Regions from separate parts of the Homo sapiens genome. Here regions 2 and 3 are each linked to region 1. The links are contacts of gene promoters, found by promoter capture Hi-C in blood cells and fetal thymus (Javierre and others, 2016). All regions are on one chromosome and are shown on one strand. Each heading gives the region's core, a stretch centred on a gene start or on the middle of the fragment in contact. The rest is flanking DNA. Distances are from core to core; before and after follow the strand shown. Region 1 holds the start of EPC1 (enhancer of polycomb 1). Region 2 has its middle 96 kb from the start of EPC1. Region 3 overlaps EPC1 (enhancer of polycomb 1).

Evidence for each region. Contacts are between HindIII fragments. The CHiCAGO score rates a contact against its expected background, and 5 or more counts as called.
Region 2: a contact is called between a fragment that was not itself captured here and the fragment with the promoter of EPC1 in region 1, in 5 of 17 cell types (activated CD4 T cells, megakaryocytes, naive CD4 T cells and 2 more). The highest score is 8.2, in activated CD4 T cells.
Region 3: a fragment that was not itself captured here is called in contact with the fragment with the promoter of EPC1 in region 1 in 3 of 17 cell types (total B cells, naive CD4 T cells and activated CD4 T cells); the score reaches 5.8 in total B cells.

The regions. Positions count from the first base shown.
Region 1 is chr10:32,345,434-32,348,609 of GRCh38, forward strand. It overlaps EPC1 (enhancer of polycomb 1), which reads right to left and starts at 1,725. Exons shown (of 14, transcript NM_001272004.3): 1 at 1,330-1,725. The coding sequence starts at 1,482. It overlaps EPC1-AS1 (EPC1 antisense RNA 1), which reads left to right and starts at 1,931. Exons shown (of 2, transcript NR_104163.1): 1 at 1,931-2,042. RefSeq lists silencers at 756-1,035, 1,706-2,175, 2,186-2,315 and enhancers at 1,256-1,355, 1,376-1,435. The HindIII fragment of the contact is 3,163 bases long and covers 806-3,176 here.
Region 2 is chr10:32,249,652-32,252,827 of GRCh38, forward strand. No RefSeq gene overlaps it. Among named protein-coding and RNA genes, the nearest start is that of EPC1, 96 kb to the right of the region's middle. The HindIII fragment of the contact is 468 bases long and covers 1,389-1,856 here.
Region 3 is chr10:32,280,631-32,283,806 of GRCh38, forward strand. The region is part of intron 10 of EPC1 (enhancer of polycomb 1); the gene reads right to left. Among named protein-coding and RNA genes, the nearest start is that of EPC1, 65 kb to the right of the region's middle. The HindIII fragment of the contact is 538 bases long and covers 1,444-1,981 here.

The DNA.
Region 1 (3,176 bases), core at 475-2,974:
AAATTCTTACAGTACCAAGAGAAGTATTACAGTACAATTTTCCACAACAAAATTGTAGCACACAAATCCACGCGACTCCTGGACTTCCTTGAACTGTCAATACACTGCACCCTGTTTAAATGGCTGTACCTGAAAACCAAGGTATGCAATTCCTTAGGATTAGAAGTCATCAAGTTATACTGTCAAGGATCTGGGGGAAATGAGAGGAAGATTCTATTATCCTGGTGTCCGAACCCAACTTCCACAACAAGGTAAAGCCACAGCGATGGTAAAATGTCTATTAGTTGTCAACATTTACGTGCTGAAACCCACCCAATTTAGACATCTCAATATTAAGATTTCTGTGAATCAAGTCACTTAGTTTTAGTTCGGTTTTGAATAAGAAAGGATCCTCCTTCGAAATTTAGATCTATAAAAGTTACTTAAATTGGGTCTTTTCTCCCCCTATGTTGAGATACCAGAGAGCAGGAGAACTTAAATTTATTTTACAAATAGGTAAGGTTACAGGCTTCAGAAGAGAGAGGTACTCCAAACAAATCTGCAAGATATTCGCAAGGATCACAGAAAAAGTCAGGGATAGTGGTTTATTATCCTCCGACCAACTAGCTCTGGAGAGGGATGGATACAAACGTCCCAGAAAGAGGACACTGAAAGTAAGTCTTATCTTCTAGAAAAGTAAGTCGTCCGGGCAAACACGCTGCACCCTCGACATTTCCTTGCAGAGGGGGAGAAAAGCCTCATAGAGCAGCAGGCGACATGACATGCCCGTCTGAGGCTCCACGTGGGGGCTGCACTGAGCCCAACAAGCTTCCCAGACCATGGGGCAATCAAATTCCCCGACTGTGCACAGAACCTGCGCTCCCGGCCCGGGCAGCGGCGCGCAGGCCGCAGTGGCCCTGGAGCGCCACCCAGCGGCCCACGGAGAGGCCTGTAGGCGGGTCCTCCACGGCTCCCGACTCGCCGCACCCCCACAGCCACCCAGCCCGTTCCCCTCTCCGGATGCACAAGGCCCAACCCAAGAACTAAGACACAAAATGGCTGCCGGCAGCTTCGTCACGTGACCCCTTTGTGCCTTTCGGGCCCCCGAACTCCGCGGGACCCGGGTACAAGTGGCCAGGGTCAGCGGGTGGCCTTAGAAGGGGCCCCGCTGGGCCGCGGCGGCCGGGGGTCGAGGCTGGGGGAGGCGGGGTATAGGCCCGGCCGGCGACTGAGAGTCGGCGGCGAAGAGAAGATGGCGGCCATTTTGTGTGGGTTTGCTGCTCCGCCGCCGCCGCAGGCAGCAGAGGGAGCGGGCCTGACGGTGGGTCGGACAGGGGAGTTAACACGTACCGACTCCTCTTCCTTCTCCATTCCGGTGGGCATCTGCGGCACGGCCCTGTTTATCGAGGCGTATTCGTGCAGGTCGGGCAGATCCTCACAGCGGAAAACCGGCAGCGGCTTCGAGGCGTCTAGCGCCCGCGCCCGAAACGACAGTTTACTCATCTCAGGCGCAGCAGATACCTCTCCGCTCTGGGGAAACGGCCCCGGCCAGCGGGATCATGGAGAACCGGGGGTTCGGTCCCCACTCGCCAACCGCTGCCGGGGACTTGAGGGGCGGAGCGCAGAGCCCGCCGTCCGGGCACTAACACCAGCCGGGAGGGTGGGAGGCTGTGCCGCTCCGCTCCTCTCTCGCTCGCTCTCTTCAATACGCCATGGCCAACATGGCGGACATTAAAACTCCACTGTGCGCTCTTCAGCCAACCCCAGCCATTCCCCACACTGCATCGCGCAGCGGCGCGGGCACGCGGGCGGGGGGAGGGAGCGCGGGCTCGAGGCCGGCGCCGGCACGAAGCGCGCGTCCCGCCAACCCCCGGCACCCGCCGGCCTCGCTTCCCGCGCCTCGCTGCTCCGGGCCCCCGCCCTTCGCGGGTCCGGGGGCGGACAGGGCGGACTGGGCGCTCGGACACCGGGCGCCGGCTCTTGGGTCGTGCTCTCCTGCAGCGCACACGCTCACTTTCTCACGCTCGCTCCCTCCCGGCGCCGCTTTCTGACGGGCGAACAAGGTGCGGGAAAACTCTCTCCACCAGCACGCCGCCGTTTGGAAAGGCAGCTGGGGAGAGTGGCAGGCGGGGCTCGGGCCCCGGGCACCTGGGGCTCGGAGGGCTCGGACCTCTGGGGTGCTCGCCAGCGGCTGCCCCGGGGCCACGGCCGCCCCCACGGGGCTTCGGAGGGGCGCTCCAGAGGCGCCGCGCGCCGCCGTCTGCCGCGGGGGGCGAACGCACAGCCTAGTTCCCGCGGCGCCTTAGGTCTTTACGATAAAAATACAAACTGAATTAGGGGCAGATGCTACTTTGAGTAAACTTTTATCAGCAGTTATTTTTATGTCCTAATGCAACTTTGGATTATAATGTTTTATAGGCACCGCATCAAGTCATTGATCCGTTTCCCACGCATTGGGCTTAATATAAATGATAGGTATCCTATTCTACAAAGTAGATTTTTTTAAATCCTGCATTTTCATCTACACATATTTACTTTTTAAATAGTAACTGAAGCAAAGGAAATTATTACCCACCACTATAACATTTAAAAGCAAGATCTACTTCAGAATTTAAAGCCAGTTCTTTATATCTAGCTCATGATTCTGTACTCAAAGAGACTGCGGCTTCATCATAGCCGTGGGTTCACACTTTCATCATTTGTCCTCTGAAAAACTTTGTAACATTGAATCATATAAAGACCTGTCGTACTCCCGCCAAACAAAAAGCTGAATTATTAGATTTAGATGGATATGATAGATGGGTGGCATCGGTTTATATTACACATGAAAATGGGTATCCTGAGATCTCTTCGTTGTTGTTGTTGTTAATAGGGAAGATTGTTGGGGTGGGTTTAATAAATTGGCAGCCAAATTTCAATTCGAGTTTCAATTTGTATCTTAGTGCACAATTTTGTATCTTGTGCAACAAGATACAAAAAGATACAAAAATGTTTTGAGTTGCTTTTCTCCCTGGGAACTACGTAGTAAAAGTAATCACGCTCCTTAAATACTGGGCTTGATATGAGCTGTCACTAGCTTAGGGCACACAGGCAAACTGCTAGCCTCCAGGCTGGTTTAGCCAGCTCCCGCGGGGTAGGGAGAAAACAGGACGGATTGCAGTTCTCCAAAATTATACTTAAACTCCGATATTGGCAGC
Region 2 (3,176 bases), core at 373-2,872, 96 kb before region 1:
CAACAAATGAGTAGATAAACAAAATGTGGTATATACATATGATGGAATGGTAGCCTTAAAAAGTGATAAAATTCTGACACATGCTGTAACACAGATGAACCCTGAAGACATTATACTAAGTGAAATAAGCCACAACAAATAACAATACAAAGTAACAAACAGTTGGATCAGAGCCACACCCTGATGACCTTCAGGTGGATCACCTCAGGAAGCCTGAGGTCAGGAGTTTGAGACCAGCCTGCCCAACATGGAGTAACCCAGTCTCTACTAAAAATACAAAACATTAACTGGGTGTGGTGGCTGGTTCAAACTTCATTATCTCCATAAAGGCCCTTTCTCCAAATACAGTCACACTGGGGGTTGGGGCTTTAACATATGAATTCTGAGTAGACTCAATTCATTCAACAGCATCATGTAAGAGGAATCATACAGTATTTGATTTTTTGGTGTGTTATTCTTCATGTCCTTATAAGAAGAGACACAGAGGCTGGGCATGGTGGCTCACGCCTGTAATCCCAACACTTTGGGAGGCTGAGTCAGGCAGATTGCTTGAGGTCATGAGTTCGAGACCAGTCTGGCCAACATGGTGAAACCCCGCCTCTACTAAAAATAGAAAAATTAGCTGGACATAGTGGTGGGTGCCTGTAATCACAGCTACTCGAGAAGCTGAGGCAGAAGAATCTCTTGAACCTGAGAGGCGGAGGTTGCAGTGAGCAGAGATTGCACCACTGCACTCTAGCCTGGGCAACAGAGTGAGACTCCATCTTCAAAAAAAGAAAAAAAAAAAGAAAAGAAAACACACTTTCATTTCCAAAAAAAAAAAAAAAGACACAGAGACGTCTGTTTCTCCCTGCCACCTAAGAACATAGTGAGAAGGCCACAGCCTACAGCTAGAAAGAGAGCCCTCACCAAAACCGACTATGCTGGCACTTTGATCTCAGGCTTTTGGCCTCCAGAACTTCAGCCTGTCTGTTAAGTTACCCAGTTTATGATATTTTGCTGTGGCAGCTCAAGCTGACTAAGGCATGCAAGGGACCTAGAGTAGTCAAATTCACAGAGACAGAAAGTAGAACAGTGGTTACCAGGGGCTAGGGGGAGAGGGGACTGGGAAGTTACTGTTTACTTACAGTTTCCGTTTAAGATGACAAAAAATTCTGAAGGTGGATAGTGGTGATGGTTACATAGCAATATGAATGTATTGAATGCCATTGAACTGTACATTGAAAGATGATTAAAATGGTACATTTTATGTTATCTATATCTTACCACAATTTTAAAAATTAAAAAAAAGGAAAAAAGCTTGTAAAAAGCTCAAAAAAAAAAAAAGAGTCTAAAGGACATTTTATGGCCTCTCTGGAACCCTGGTTCTGTATGGCCAGCCTCGGTCAAGCTTCCACCTTTCCTGTCATCTCCTCACAGACACACTGAAGATGTTCTGCTAGTGGCTTTGGGATACACACAGTTCAGCAGATAAGGCACAGGAGAACATTTTAAGTTCTGTCTAAATGAGCTCTAGAGCTCTGCTGTCACTGAATTTAAAAGTCTTTTTTCCCAAGAGTAAAACAAATTCAAGAAGGAAAAATGCATGCAGCTGGAGCCTGAATGAGCAGTTTTGTCTCCCAAGACCGGAAAACACCTGTTCCCAGCAGACTTTCTATTGAATTTTATATGGCTTTCAAAAATAGCCCACTTCTTAGCTGACTGGCAAGATTTAGTTATGTTTGGTTGTCTTCCACAATTTTATCTAAGCTCTAGCAATCACACAACATTTTATTTATTTTTTTAGCAGGGAAATGGGTATACAAAATTACTGTCGTAGCTTTCCTAGATCAACTTGTAGTTTTGATAAATCCGGAAGCTTATGACAGCAAAGCACATGTTGTTAGAAAGCACTGGAATCAAGATAGACAACCAGAAGGGGCTTGAGACGACAGAGCCCTGCGACTCCGGGCAGGGGCTCTTGGGCCAGCAGTGTTAGTAGACTCTCAGAGTTTGCTAGAAATGCGGAACCTTCAGCTGCACCCCAGACCCACTGAATCAAAACCTGCATTTTCACAAAATCTCCGGGAATACTCACTCAAGTTTGAGAAGCTCTGAGAGTGACCTTCAGAACTTCCTCAGTGGAATTGCCTGAACACTGATTAAAAATGCATATTCCTGGGTCCTGCCCAACACCTGTGAAAATTACCCCATTATGATTCTTAGACAAACAAGTTTCAGAACTATCGCAGTAGGTGTCTCTTAGGAAGGAAAGCTACTCTGGTGGGGTGCAGTGGCTCATGCCTGTAACCCCAGTACTTTGGGAGGCCAAGAGGAGAGACCAAGACTTGCCTGGGTAATGTAGCGAGACCACCATGTCTAGATATATATTAAAAAATTAGCTGGGCATAGTGGCACATGTCTGTAGTCCTAGTTATTAGGGAGAATTGCTTATGCCTGGGAGTTCGAGACTGCAATGAGCTATATGATTGAGCCACTGCACTCCAGCCTGGGTGACAAAGCAGTACCCGGTCTCAAAAAAAAAAAAAAAAAAAAGGCCGGACACAGTGGCTTACACCTGTAATCCCAGCACTTTGGGAGGCCAAGGCGGGCAGATCACCCAAGGTCAGGAGTTTGAGACCAGCCTGGCCAACATGGCCAAACCCTGTCTCTACTAAAAATAAAAAAAAATTAATAAAATTTTAAAAATTAGCTATGTATGGTGGTGCATGCCTGTAGTCCTAGCTACTCGGGAGGCTGAAGCAGGAGGATCGCTTGAATGTGGGAGATGAAGGCTGCAGTGAGCCTAGATTGCGCCATGATTGTGCCACTGCACTCCAGTCTGGGTGACAGAGCAAGACTCCAGAAAAATAAAAAAAGAAAGGAGGAAGGAAGGAAGGAAGGAAGGAAGGAAGGAAGGAAGGAAGGAAGGAAGGAAGGAAGGAAAGAAAAGAAAGACCCTTTGTGCTACTGGAATTTGAAGGGCCCTTTTCTCTCCACTCCTGGTTTTGTTACAGGAAAGGGGTCCTGATCCAGACCTCAAGAGAGGATTCTTGGATCTCGTGCAATAAAGAATTCAGGGTGAGTCCGTAAAGTGAAAGCAAATTTATTAAGAAAGTAAAGGAATAAAAGAATGGCTACTCCATAGACAGAGCAGCCCCGAGGGCAGCTGGTTGACCATTTTTATGGTTATTTCT
Region 3 (3,176 bases), core at 463-2,962, 65 kb before region 1:
CAGGAGACTGAGGCAGAGAACTGCTTGAACCGGGGAGGTGGAGGTTGCAGTGAGCTGAGATCATGCCACTGCACTCCAGCCTGGGAGACAGAGCAAGACTCTGTCTCAAAAACATGACAAACATAAAAACAATGAATAATCAGAAATGGCTATACTATAACTCGCATATTTGGCTTAAGTAGCAGGAAAGCTTATCAGCTGACTTGTATTTTACAAAATAGTTAACTTCCAAACTCATAAACAACTTGGGCATCTCTAATATGAACGTCTGAAATCTGAAATGCTCCAAGAACCAAAACTTTTTCTGCATTGACCTGATACTACAAGTGGAAAATTCTACACCTGGCCTCATGTGATGGGGCCATAGTCAAAATGCAGTCAATACTTTGTTTCATGCATAATTTTTATTATTTATTTATTTTGAGATGGAGTCTTGCCCTGTCACCCAGGCTGGAGTGCAGTGGCGTGATGTTGGCTCACTGCAACGTCTGCCTCCTGGGTTCAAGTGGTTTTCCTGCCTCAGCCTCCCGAGTAGCAGGAATTACAGGCACCCACCACCACGTCTGGCTAATTTTTGTATTTTTAATAGAAACGTGTTTTGCCATGTTGGCCAGGCTGGTCTTGAACTCCTGATCTGAGGTGATCTCAGGCAATCTGCCTGCCTCGGCCTCCCAAAGTGCTGGGATTACAGGCATGACCCACTGTGCCTGGCCTGACTCTTCTGTTTTAATTAGCCCAACACTGCCAGTTTTTCTGCTGGCATCAGACTACATCAGAGTTTCTTTGGTTAAGTGCCAGAGGAAGTAGTCTGGTTTGTATGTGGGGGCCATGCTGTATGAAAATTAAAAATTATCTTTAAAATCACAATTACTACTGAATGAGGTAAGATGCTTAACCTATGAATAAAGTGGCAATGCGGGCACTCACGCCGTAAGAGGACCAACACATTCAACTTCCCCTACTCCAGGCTCACTCTGGAGAATATATTCTTTCAGTAAATTGTATTTAGAATTCTGTATAACATTTGAGCTGCTACATTTTCTCTTTTTTTTTTTTGAGATGGAGTCTCACTCTGTCGCCCAGGCTGGAATGCAATGGCACAATCTCGGCTCACTGCAACCTCTGACTCCCAGGTTCAAGCCATTCTCCCTGCCTCAGCTTCCTGAGTAGCTGGGATTACAGGCGCCTGCCATCATGCCCAGCTAATTTTTGTATTTTTTAGTAGAGACCAGGTTTCGCCATATTAGCCAGGCTAGTGTGGAACTCCTGACCTCAGGTGATCTGCCCGCCTCGGCCTCCCAAAGTACTGGGATTACAGGCATGAGCCACCACACTTGGCCTAAATTTTGTTTTTTTTTTCTTCAGGGGCCTGGAGTTGGATTAAGTGAAATGCACTTATGATATGGCTGCATTGTAATATACTTTATAAAGTATGCAGAGAAAAGCTTTAGGTCTCTGGAATATTCACAAATATAAATGAACAGTGTTACCCTACAGTAGTCTGTAGGTATCTATCCTCTAAGTATTAGAAGATCTAGCAAAATTTAAGGAGAAATTGAAAATAATTAAGACAACAGGAAAAAAAATAGATAAACTCATTTTTAAAAAGTAGTATTGAGGCTGGGTGCAGTGGCTCACCCCTGTAACCCTAGCACTTTGGGAGGCCAAGGCAGGAGGATCACTTGAGGCCAGGAGTTCAAGACTAGCCTGGGCAACATAGACCCTATCTCTTACAAAAAATTAGCCAGTCATGGTGGCATACGCCTGCAGTCCTAGCTACCCAGGAGGCTGAGGTTGGGGGATCACTGAGCCTGGGAAGTTGAGGCTGCAGTGAGCCATGACTGTGCCACTATACTCCAGTCTGGGTGACAGAGAAAGATCCTGTCTTAAATAAATAAATAAATAGTTGTATCGCATATATGGAGGAAAGAAATGATAAAGAAGAAAAATTACAAGGTTACTAATGATTTCTTTTCAGCTAAGCTTTTGGTAATGCTCATCTTTTAATGTTCTTTGGGCAAACACAAATCAAACAATTTTTACAACTGTTATTAATATGCCTAAAGCAGTATAGCAAAACATTTTTCATAAAAAAAGAGCATTATAAAATCCTTAAATATTTAGGATAGTTATACACTTCAACTTCTCTATTTAAGGGGTGGAGAAGATGGAGATTGATGGAACATGCCTATTTTCTGAGAAGTCTTAAAGAATTTTTACAGCTTAGAAAGCTTAATTATCAGGGTAACCTATGACAGGTTTATACTGTTAAAACCTCTATACTAACACTATAAGTAAGTCTTTATTGAAAAGTTCTTTATTTTGATTCTTAAGACTATAAAAGTAGAGAGAAACTGGCTTTTGGTGATAAAGACAGTAACATTAATGGGATTATAAATAAGCTGTTAGTCCCTAAAATAGCTTTATCTTCCAGCTGATTTCTGAATTGTGATTATTTTTCTCATGAGCTGAAAGACTTCCATTTCATAGAAGTACAGCTGACCCTTGAATAACATGGGTTTGAACTGCCTGGGTCTACTTATTTGTAAATTATCTTCTGCCTCTGTCACCTCTCAGATGACAAGACCAACCCCTCCTCCCCCTCAATGTGAAGATGACAAGGATAAAGACCTTTATGATGATCCACTTACACTTAATGATTAGTAAATGTATTTTCTCTCCTTTATGAATTTCTTTTTTTTTTGAAACAGGGTTTTGCTTTGCTGTGAAGCCTGGAATGCAGTGGCATGATCTTGGCTCACTGCAGCCTTGACCTTCTGGGCTCCTACCACCTCAGTCTCCTGAGTAGCTGAGACTACAGGCGCTCACCACCACACCCAGTGAATTTCTGCATTTTTTGTAGAGATGAGGTTTCACCATGTTGCCCAGGCTGGTCCTGAACTCCTGGGCTCAAGCAATCTGCCCACTTTAGCCTCCCAAAGTGCTGGGATTACAGGCATGAGCCACCATGCCTGGCTCTATAAATTTCTTAATAACATGTTCTTTTTCCTAGCTTATTTTAAGAATGAAGTACAGAATACATATAACATACAAAACATGTATGTTTGGACTGTTTATGTTAATGGACTAATGGACTGTTTATGTTATTGGTAATTCTGGTCAGGAGCAGACTATTAGTCAAGTTTTTGGGGAGTCAAAAGTTATACATGAATTTT